Linked DNA regions of Homo sapiens: region 1 is linked to region 2. Evidence: promoter capture Hi-C in human tissues and cell types (Jung and others, 2019). All regions are on one chromosome and are shown on one strand. The core of a region is centred on a gene start or on the middle of the fragment in contact, and the rest is flanking DNA. Distances in the headings are between cores, read along the strand shown.

Evidence for each region. The method cuts DNA at HindIII sites, captures the fragments that hold promoters and counts their contacts. A contact is called where the count stands out against the background at its distance.
Region 1: a contact is called between a fragment that was not itself captured here and the fragment with the promoter of VNN1 in region 2, in 4 of the 25 tissues and cell types used here (H1 embryonic stem cells, liver, mesenchymal stem cells and 1 more).

The regions. Positions count from the first base shown.
Region 1 is chr6:132,632,124-132,638,351 of GRCh38, forward strand. No RefSeq gene overlaps it. Among named protein-coding and RNA genes, the nearest start is that of TAAR2, 11 kb to the left of the region's middle. The HindIII fragment of the contact is 4,731 bases long and covers 1,134-5,864 here.
Region 2 is chr6:132,709,977-132,715,714 of GRCh38, forward strand. VNN1 (vanin 1) reads right to left here and starts at 4,079. Exons shown (of 7, transcript NM_004666.3): 1 at 3,850-4,079; 2 at 1,733-1,863. The coding sequence starts at 4,059. The HindIII fragment of the contact is 14,207 bases long and covers 1-5,738 here.

The DNA of each region.
Region 1 (6,228 bases), core at 2,249-4,748, 78 kb before region 2:
GGAAGGACATAATCTTAGACAACAAACAGTCTATTAAATTGAATAAGTTTTCCGATATGAAAAGCTCACCACATTGTTTTGATTTTCTCACTTTACAATTACCTATAAAAAGTTTGTCACAACTAACACCAATCTTCATACTGAGAGGATTTGGGAATCCCTGACTTAGACGATCAAGGTACCATTAGTTTGAGAAAATATTAAAACACTGAAATCTCAAGAACTAACTTCAGAAATAAAGTTTTTCCTTGCTGGTTTAAAATTGTTGCATTCTAGTCAATATGTCTTTTTTCTCTCCCTTCCTTGACAAATGTTCATCAAGCAGCAACCCTGTACCAGGCTCTGTGGCAGGGACGGGGTATGAATGAGGCTGCCTACAGGAGCTCACAGCCGAGGCTTCTGAGTGAAGTGTTAAACATTGTAGTCTTCATAATTCCTCTAAAATTTTAACCTACTATATATACTGAAAAGCTTAGAATTCCTTTTTATTAAAGATCTAAATCAATGGTTCTTAGAACTGCATTCATTTCAAAGAAACCAAGTCATGTATTAAAATTGCAGATTTCTGAGTCTCAATCCCATCCTCCCAAATAATTTCAATGCAGTTAGGGATCCAACACAGGCCCAGGTAAAAGGCCATAAGTCAAATCTAGTTAATGGTTTCAGAATATACGTTTTAATAACTTTGCTTTTAAAATTGTATTATATTAATAAAGAATACACTTTTTTTGCCAAAATTAAACCCACATAGGCACATTCTCTTAAATTTAATTGGGGATAAAATTATGAATCCCTACAGTATTCTCACAGTTGACCCTACTTCCTGAGACAGGAAAGTGGGTAGAGTTTGTAGCCCGATATGGTTAGGTTTGTGTCCCCACGCAAATCTCATTTTAAATTGTTATTCCCCATAATTCCCATGTGTCAAGGGAAAGAATGGGTAGGAGGTCATTGGATCATGGTGGCTGTGTTCCCCATGCTGTTCTCGTGATGGTGAGTGTGTTCTCTTAAGATCTGATGGTTTTATAAGTGTCTGATAGTTCCTTCTACATACGCTCTTTCTCTTCTGCCACCTTGTGAAGAAGAATGTGTTTGCTTCCCCTTCCGCCATGATTATAACTTTCCCAAGCCTCCCCAACCATGTGGAATTGTGAGTCAATTATACCTCTTTTCTTTATGAATTACCCAGTCTTGGGTAGTTCTTTTTAGCCATGTGAAAATGGACTAACACATAGCCTGACAGACTTGGGCTCAAATCTTACCTCTAACATTTATTAATTGTGTCCCCTTGGACACCTTATTATTTATTATTTATCCAGCTAAAAAACATACAGTGAGTGACTTTCTCTGTGCCAAACATGATGCTAAGTACAGCAGTACTTAATAAATCACTGTCCCTAGCTTCTGCAATTCACTGTCCAGTGAGGGCAGAGGGCACCACAATCAATACATGCACTGACAGGGATGGGCGTGGGATATTTTGAGAGTTCAGAGAGACACTTACCTGGCCTGAGGGGATAACAGAATGCTTCCTGGAGAGTAATCCTCAAGATGAGCCTTTTCAGTTGAGTAGATGTCAGCCAGTTACAGCGAGGGACCTGGGGGAGGCATTTCAGGCATATAGGGCTGCAGGAGCAAAAACAGAAAGGACAGAAAGCATGGGAGCAACAAAGAGAACCGGGATTTTAACCCCGGCTGACGTGGTTCCAAAGCCTGAGCTTGTCTCCATATGCCAGGGTGATTCAGAGTGCTCTACACTAGTGTGCTTCAGAGATTACACAGAGTTCTCATGAAGCTTAATTACATTGGTGGATAATAGGTGTTTTGCAGATTGATATCAAAATATAAATTACTTTTATAGCTTTACAATTTATGTATTTATAGATTATGTGCTATATAATTATATATACATATACCAATAATTTCTTATATAAATTATCTTATGTGTATATATACATGCTATATAAAATTTTTTCAAAATAAAATCCCCCCAGTTTCTCAAATAACTGACATATCACAGATTATGCACAAATGTGCCACCAGGTTACTTCCTTTTGCATAAAGCTTGAAATAGATCTTCTTCTGCTATCCTTTTTTGCATAATTATAATTGTAAAATTTGTTAGGAAGGAGGATACTGGGATTCCACACTAGTTTTTGTTTTTTAAAGAACTGACATGTAATGTCTGTGTATGTTAACATCTCTGTGTGCAGTACCATAGCATATGCTGAGTAAACACCACTATAGCATACACCAATAAAATGACAGAGAATACCACTAATAATATATGTTCACCAAGGGATTTTACATGTTAAGATCCATGCTAGGCGATAACTTCTCATCTAGTAATCAACAATCTACTGAAGGAGGTGAGATCATTGCCCTCACTTTATAGCTGAGTAAATGAAGGTTTTGCATTTTTAAATAACTTTGTCCAAATAATAGCTGATAAATATTGGAGTCAGAAATGCAGACCCATGGCGTCTAGCTCCCAAGCCTGCCCTTCTCACCACAGATCATCTTCGATAATGAGGGCTTGAATATTTTCATTAATTAAAATCTCCCTAGGAGCAGCCTGGCTTGAAAAATACTACTTTACCACATCACATTGTTAAAACATTGATCAAAAAACAAATTTTAGAGTTTGGCATCTCTGTGATTTCTTATCTGACTTGTACATTTATTAAGAGGGATACCGAGGGATTCCTGGACAAGATGGCCAAATAGGAACAGCTCCAGTCTGAAGCTCCCAGTGAGACCAATGCAGAAGGCTGATGATTTCTGCATTTCTAACTGAGGTAACTGGTTCATCTCACTGGGAATGGTTAGAGAGTGGGTGCAGCCCACGGGGTGAGCAGAAGCAGTGTGGGGGCATTGCCTCACCCGGGAAGTGCAAGGGGTTAGGGAACTCCCTCCCCTAGCCAAGGAAAGTCTTGAGGGAATGTGCCATGAGGGACAGAGCTATCCAGCTCAGATACGACACTTTTTTCACAGTCTTCACAACCCACAGACCAGGAGATTCCCTTGGGTACCTACACCACAAGGTCCCAGGGTTTCAAGCACAAAACTGGGTGGCCATTTGGGCAGACACCGAGCTAGCTGCAGAAGTTTTTTTCATATCCCAGTGGCACCTGGAATGCCAGCAAGACAGAACCATTCACTCCCATGGAAAAGGGGATAAAGCCAGGGAGTCAAGTGGTCTTGCTCAGAGGGTCCCTCTCCCATGGAGCCCAGCAAGCTAAGATCCACTGGCTTGAAATTCTCACTGGCAGCACAGCAGTCTGCAGTCAACCTGGGACACTCGAGCTTGGTGTTGGGAGGGGCGTCCACCGTTACTGAGGCTTGAGTAGGCTGTTTTCCCCTCACAGTGTAAACAATGCCTCCTGGAAGTTTGGACTGAGCACAGCCCACTGCAGCACAGAAAAGTAGCTGTAGCCAGACTGCCTCTCTAGATTCCTCCTCTATGGGCAGGACATCTCTGAAAGAAAGGCAGCAGCCTCAGTCAGGGCCTTATAGATAAAACTCCCATCTCCCTGGGACAGAGCACCTGGGGGAAGGGGCAGCTGTGGGAGCAGCTTCAGCAGACTTAAATGTTCCTGCCTGCCAGCTCTGAAGAGAGCAGCTTATCTCCAAGCACAGTGCTCAAGCTCTGCTAAGGGACAGACGGCCTCCTCAAGTGGGTCCCTGACCCCCATGCCTCCTGTCTGGGAGACTCCTCCCAGAAGGAGTTGAGAGACACGTCATACAGGAGAGCTCCAGCTGACATCTGGCAAGTGCCCCTGTGAGACAAACCTTCCAGAGGAAGGAGCAGGCAGCAATTTTTGCTGTTCTGCAGCCTTGGCTGGTGATACCCAGGCAAACAGGGTCTGGAGTGGACCCCCAGCAAACTCCAGCAGATCAGCAGTAGAGGTGCCTGACTCTTAGAATGAAAAACAGAAAGCAATAGCATCAACATCAACAAAAAGGATGACCATGCAAAAACTCCATCCAAAGGTCACCAACAGCAAAGACCAAAGGTAAATAAATCCATGAAGATGAGGAAAAGCCGGTGCAAAAAGGCTGAACATTTCAAAAACCAGAATGCTCTTCTCTTCCGAAGGATCACAACTCCTTACCAGCAAGGGAACATAACTGGACAAAGAATGAGTTTGACGAACTGACAGAAGTAGGCTTCAGAAGGTGGGTAATAACAAACTCCTCTGAGCTAAAGGAGCATGTTTTAACCCAATGCAAGGAAGCTAAGAGCCTTGATAAAAGGTTAGAGGAATTGCTAACTAGAATAACCAATTTAGAGAAGAACATAAATAACCTGATGGAGCTGAAAAGCACAGCATGAGAACTTCGTGAAGCATACACAAGTATCAATAGCCGAATCGATCAAGCAGAAGAAAGGATATCAGAGATTGAAGATCAACTTAATGATATAAAGTGTAAAAACAAGATTAGAGAAAAAGAATGAAAAGGAATGAATAAAGCTCCCAAGAAATATGGGACTATGTGAAAAGACCAAACCTACATTTGATTGGTGTACCTGAAAGTGACAGGGAGAATGGAACCAAGTTGGAAAACACACTTCAGGATATTATGCAGGAGAACTTCCCCAACCTAGCAAGACAGGCCAACATTCAAATTCAGGAAATACAGAGAACACCACAAAGGTTCTCCTCGAGAAGAGCAACCCCAAGTCACATACTCATCAGATTCACCAAGATTGAAATGAAGGAAAAAATGTTAAGGGCAGGCAGAGAGAAAGCTTGGGTTACCCCCAAAAGGAAGCCTGTCAGACTAACAGTGGATCTCTCTGAGAAAACCTACAAGCCAGAAGAGAGTGGGGTCAATATTCAACATTCTTAAAGAAAAGAATTTTCAACCCAGAATTTCATATCCAGCCAAAGTAAGCTTCATAAGTGAAGGAGAAATAAAATCCTTTACAGACAAGCAAATGCTGAGGGATTTTGTCCCATCAGGCCTTCCTTACAAGAGCTCCTGAAGGAAGAACTAAATATGGAAAGGAAAAATGGGTACCAGCCACTGCAAAAACAAACCAAAATGTAAAGACCATTGACATTATGAGGAAACTCCATCAACTAATGTGCAAAATAACCAGCTAGCATCATAATGACAGGATGAAATTCAAACATAACAATATTAACCTTAAATGTAAATGGGCTAAATGCCCCAATTAAAAGGCACAGAGTGGCTAACTGGATAAAGAGTCAAGACCCATCGGTATGCTGTATTCAGGAGACCCATCTCACATGCAAAGACACACATAGGCTCAAAATAAAGTCATTGAAGAAGACTTACCAAGCAAATGAAAAGCAAAAAAAGGTAGGAATTGCAATTCTAGTCTCTGATGAAACAGACTTTAAATGAACAAAGATCAAAAGAGACAAAGAAGGGCATTACCTTATGGTAAAGGAGTCAATACAACAAGAAGAGCTACCTATCCTAAATATATGTGCACCCAATACAGGAGCATCCAGATTCAAAAAGCAAGTTCTTAGAGACCTACAAAGAAACTTAGACTCCCACACAATAATAGTGGGAGACTCTAACACCCCACTGTCAATATTAGACACACATCAACAAGACAGAAAATTACCAAGGATATTCAGGACTTGAACTCAGCTCTGGACCAAGCAGACCTAATAGACATCTACAGAACTCTCCACCCCAAATCAACAGAATATACATTCTTCTCAGCACCACATAGCACTTATTCTAAAATCAACCACATAATTTGAAGTAAAACACTCCTCAGCAAATGCAAAGGAACGGAAATCAAAACAAACAGTCTCTCAGACCACAGTGCAATGAAATTAGAACTCAGGATTAAGAAACTCACTCAAAACCACACAACTATATGGAAACTGAACAACCTTCTCCTTGAAAGACTACTGGGTAAATAACAAAATTAAGGCAGAAATAAATAAGTTATTTGAAACCAATGAGAACAAAGACACAACGTACTAGAATCTCTGGGACACAACTAAAGCAGTGTTTAGAGGGAAATTTAAAGCACTAAATGCCCACAAGAGAAAGCAAGAAAGATCTAAAATCGACACCCTAACATCACAATTAAAAGAACTAGAGAAGCAAGAGTAAACAAATTCAAAAGCTAGCAGAAGAGGAGAAATAACTAAGATTAGAACAGAAGTGAAGGAGATAGAGACAAAAATCCTTCAAAAAATCAATGCACCCAGGAGTTGGTTTTTTGAAAAGATT
Region 2 (5,738 bases), core at 2,829-5,328:
AATAACACTGGAATTTATCAAAATCCACCTTGTCAAAATCAAGGTGTCTCTGTAAGTAGTTTTTGTGGGTTTGTTTGTTTGTTTGTTTTTGAGACAGAGTCTAGCTCTGTTACCCAGGCTGGAGTGCAGTGTCACTCTCTTGGCTCACTGCAACCTCTGCCTCCCAGGTTCAAGCAGTTCTCCCTGCCTCAGCCTTCCAAGTAGCTGGGATTATAGGTGCCCACCACCACGCCCCACTAATTTTTGTATTTTTAGTAGAGATGGGGTTTTGCCAAATTGGCCAGGCTGGTCTCAAACTCCTGACCTCAGGTGATCCTCCTGCCTCGGCCTCCCAAAGTGTTGGAATTACAGGCATGAGTCACCACACCCAGCCAGTTTCTGTGGGATTTTTAATTTTAGTATTATTATTATTATACTTTAAGTTCTGAGATACATGTGCAGAACATGCAGGCTTGTTACATAGGTATACACGTGCCATGGTGGTTTGCTGCACCCACCAACCCATCATCTACATTAGGTATTTCTCCTAATGCCATCCCTCCCTTAGCCCCCGACTCCCCGACAGGCCCCGGTGTGTGATGTTCCCCTCCTTGTGTCCATGTATTCTCGTTGTTCAACTCCCACTTATGAGCGAGAACATGCAGTGTTTTGTTTTCTGTTCCTGTGTTAGTTTGCTGAGAATGATGGTTTCCAGCTTTATCCATGTCCCTGCAAAGGACATGAACTTATCCTTTTTTACAGCTGTGTAGTGTTCTGTGGTATATATGTGCCACATTTTCTTTATCCAGTCTACCATTGATGGGTATTTGGGTTGGTTCCAAGTCTTTGCTATTGTGAACAGTGCTGCAATAAACATATGCATGCATGTGTCTTTATAGTAAAATGATTTATGATCCTTTGGTATATACCCAGTAATGGGATTGGTGGGTCAAATGGTATTTCTGGTTCTAGATCCTTGAGGAATCACCACACTGTCTTCCACAATGGTTGAACTAATTTATACTCCCACCAACAGTGTAAAAGAGTTCCCCTTTCTCCACATCCTCTCCAGCATCTGTTGTTTCCTGACTTTTTAATGATCACCATTCTAACTGGCGTTGTGCGGTTTTGAGAATAGTTCCAAAAGAGGAATTCCTAAAATAATTTTAGCCATGTGTATTCAGAAAGAAGTATGTGAATCGACATGATTTTCTTAGGTGTATAAGATATTGGTTTCCTTACATTAAAATTAATAGTGCTGCTTTCACCACACTTAATATCTCTGTAGCCGAGACCTGACTTAAACCACTTAAAATCCTGCCATATCACCTCTTAGATTACAATCAGCTTACACTTTAAGGACTTTACTACATTAACCTCATCAGCTATCTTAGCAATGAGAAAGGAAAACTATTAATCTTAAACTGATGTGACTCTCTTTTGCCATTTACTCATATAGTTTTCAAATCACAGACCTACACAGGGAAATATTTTTCTGTTCACTGGTGAGGAGTCAGAGACCAGAGATGTTCACACTGAATGTGATGATTTCTAAGCTACTTTCTAGCTCTGACTTCTGTGACTTCATAATTCATATTTGCTCTCCCAGTAAATATACCCATAGTAGATGAAAAATAAGCTATACTGAAACTTAAGAATTGATCATGGATCTATGCAATGATCATCAACAAAGTTTTCCCAGGTAAATCAAGTTGATGTTTACTAGTGAATTTTTCACAAGTTGTTTCTTTACCTGTTACGATTATTACAGGGGATCCAGTTTACTTCAGGGTCTGGGATGTCCTCCAAATATGGGTAGAGAGAGTCCCTGTTGAAGTTCCAGCCATAAATAGCATCTTCTGGAGTCACAATAATATGCGCACCCTGTTAAAAATGCAACTTAATCCAAAGGGGGGCCTGCAAGAGGAGCTGAGGAGCTGAGTGGCTGAGTAACAACTATTTGGGCTTCCCCCACACCCCTTAAATCTTATTTTGTTTTCTATATTTTTATAATTTATTTTCTTTTCCAAAGCATTTTAATTTCCTTTTTTTTCAGTGCACTGTCACTTCTTTTTCTTTTTCTTTTCTTTTCTTTATTTCTAATTTTAGATTCAAAGGGTACAAATGCAGGTTTGTTGCATGGATATGTTACATAATGGTGAGGTTTGGGCTTCTAGTCAAGCATTTTTTTTTCTCTCTTTTTTTTTTTTTTCAGATGGAGTTTCGCTCTGCTGCCCAGGCTGGAGTGCAATGGCTAGATCTCGGCTTACCACAATCTCCACCTCCCGGGTTCAAGCGATTCTCCCGCCTCAGCCTCATAAGTAGCTAGGATCACAGGCATCTGCCACCACGCCTGGCTAATTTTTGTATTTTTAGTAGAGATGGGGTTTCTCCATATTGGTCAGGATGGTCTTGAACTCCCAACCTCAGGTGATCCGCCTGCTTCAGCCTCCCAAAGTGTTGGAATTACAGACATGAGCCACCGCACCTGGCTTAGTCAAGCATTTTAATTTTCTAATCCTGCCATTGTTGTTTCCTATGGCAGTCGTTAACTATAAACCTAGCTTATCCTGGAACCAAGCCTCTCCTTGAACTTTCGCTGATGACTGTGCCTGTGTCAAGACTGATTAATAACTTAAATATTCTGTTTATTTCCTCCTCTGCCCTAGCTTTCCCCTGCAAACATGATTCCTGCTTCTCAGAAAAAGAGGAGCCACAAACTGGTTACTTGAACTGTCCCATGCCTACAAGTACTGCCTGAGCTAACCTGGGCACCTTCCAATTAGAGAGTCACCTTAAAAAGCTCTGTGACCTTCAAGGAAATAGTTGGACTAAGGATGAAAAAGAACATCAGAACTCCTGATAACCTTTTAAATATTAGTATATATAAGAATATAGGGCAGTCACGGTAGCTCATGCCTGTAATCCCAGCACTTTGGGAGCCCAAGGCAGGTGGATCACCTGAGGTCAGGAGTTCAAGTACAGCGTGGGCAACATGGCAAAATCCCATCTCTACAAAAAATACAAAACTTAGCTGGGCACGGTGGCATGCATCTGTGGTCCCAGCTACTCTGGAGACTGTAGTGGGAGAATCACCTGAGCCCGGGAAGTCAAGGCTGCAGTGAGACGTGATCACACCACTATACTCCATCCTGGGTGACAGAGTGAGACCTTAACTCAACAACACAAAAGAATATATATTTATAGATATATGTAATACACATTTATCCATGACTTTTATCACACTTCATGTATTCCTGGTCTACACCTAATCGATCAATAGCTTTTAAAATAATATTTGTGTAAACCACAATTTATACTGTATGATTAACTTCAAACTGAAACCTTCACTAAACTTAAGGACTCACAATGCATTACATATACTTTTATCTTGTAATTAGAATGAAGTGTGAAGTATATAATGCATGCTGGCAAGGAATTGAAAACTTAAATTTGTTTTCAGATTATAAATTTATTCGAAAACCTGCAAAGCCTTAATAGCACATGAGTACATGAAGGCCACTAATACTCTGAAAATAGCACCTAGTCCCTGACCCATTTATCCTCCATCCTCCATCTGTACCAGAAAAGGGGAACAAAGATGTTGAATTTATGGCCAGTTCCTCAAAGGTCTGCTGCTTCTTGATAATGAGCAAATTGTTCTTTTCTTAACTTTGTTCTTACTTTTAGGGAAGTCCTTGCTCTAATTTTGAGAGGAAAGTAGAATTCTAACTGTAAAATAAAGGTTCTTGGCTACTCTGATACATATATCATCTAAAAGTGTAACTGACCCTGACAGTGGCCCTGTCTCCTAGGACCCCCTCCTTTCTCATAGAATCCAGTACACTGGAGAGATGGTAGAGATGGTACCTGATCTGCTGCTGATGTGATCGCTCCTTCCAAAATGTCCAGATTCCGATTCATTAATGCCAAAGCCTCCTCACGAGACACTGGTGTTAGGGTGGCATTGGGCAATATCGCTGCATGCTCATAAACAGCTGCAGTGAAAGTGTCCTGGCAGCTGGCTCTTGAGACATAGAAAAGCAAAATTGCCACGTAAGCTGGCAACTGAGTAGTCATGCTGAAGTCCAATGAGTGCTGAAAAACAGAGCATGTCCTGGTATTTATAGAAAGAAGACACGTGGTGTCCAGAACTTAGTACCTTAAACTACGGAAGTTAATTAAGAAAACGCTATGATTTCATAGCATTGTTACATAACAAAAGACCCTACCTTATTGCAGTAATTTGTGAAGATTAACTCAAGAACTCTATGTACATTAGTTCGCTAGGGCTGCCTAACAAAATACAATAAACTGGGTGGTGTAAAAAATAAAAAATTTATTGCTTTGCAGTTCTGGAGGGTGGGAGTCCCAGATGAAGGTGTCAGCAGAGTTGGTTCCTCCTGAGGGCGGTGAAGGAAAGATGTGTTCCAGGCCTCTCTCCTTGACCCATAGATGGCTGCCTTCTCCCTGTGTCTCTTCATATGCTATTCTCCCCATGTGTGTGCCTGTATCCAAGTTTTCCCTTTTTGTGAGGACACCACTCTAATCTTTAACACAGGGAAAGGGAAAATCCCAGCTCTAGCTTTTTTTGTCATCGTTGTTGTTTGTTTATTGTTGTTGTTGTTTGAGATGGAGTTTCACTCTTGTCACCCAGGCTAGAGTGCAGTGGCGAAATCTCGGCTCACTGCAACCTCCGCCTCTCGGGTTCATGTGATTCTCCTGCCTCAGCCTCCCAAGTAGCTGGGATTACAGGCGCCCGCCACCACGCCAGGCTAATTTTTTGTATTTTTAGTAGAGATAGGGTTTCGCCGTGTTGGGCAGGCTGGTCTCAAATTGCTGACCTCAGGTGATCCACCTGCTTTGTTTTTATGCCAAATAAGGGCAGAAGAAAAAAGCCAACTGAAGGTCATAAACCCAGGGGTACAGGCTCACTGAAAGACTGAGACTCAATCATAGGACCAATTCGATTTAGTGCCCACTGTACTCCAGTATAACTTCATCTTAACTAATTAGATCTGAAATGACCCCTTTTCCAAAAAAGTTACATTCTAAGATACTGACAGTTAGGACTTCAACATATAAATTTTTGGAATTCATATATTTTGGAATGTCAACACAAGACATTCAAATAATTTTAAAACTTTATTATTATTTTCATGTGAATATTTCAGCTCTACACTTTGATTTACTTTATTTTCCTCAAAATGGGGAAGCCAGGACAAAGAGGAATACAAAAGAGTTACTCATTTTCTATTGCTATATAACAAATTATCCCCAAATTCAGCAGCTTCAAAAAGCAAAAATACATCATCTCCCACTTTCTCTGGGTCAGGAATCCAGGGGCAGTTTAGCTGGTGCCTCTGGCCCAAGGTCTCTTTCACAAGGCTGCAGTCAAGCAGCTGCCAGGGCTAGCTATATCAAGGCTTGACTCCAGGAGGATTCACTTCCGAGCTCCAAGCTCCCTCATGTGGCTGACGGCAGGGATCAAGACCTCATTGGTTGTTGCCCAGAGACATGAGTTCCTAGTGATGCAAACCTCACCATAGGGCAGCCCGCATTATGGTATCTGGATTCCCTTAGAGCCAGACAGCAAGTGAACCCACTGGAGATGGAAGCCACGGATGCTTCGTAATGTAATTGGGGAAGCAACACCTCATCGCTTTTGTTGTATTCTATCCAATAAAGCATTAGGAACCATCTTTGAAGCTGCTTATCACAGAGGCAACAGAGGTGTATAAAGAATCAGAGCAAAAAAA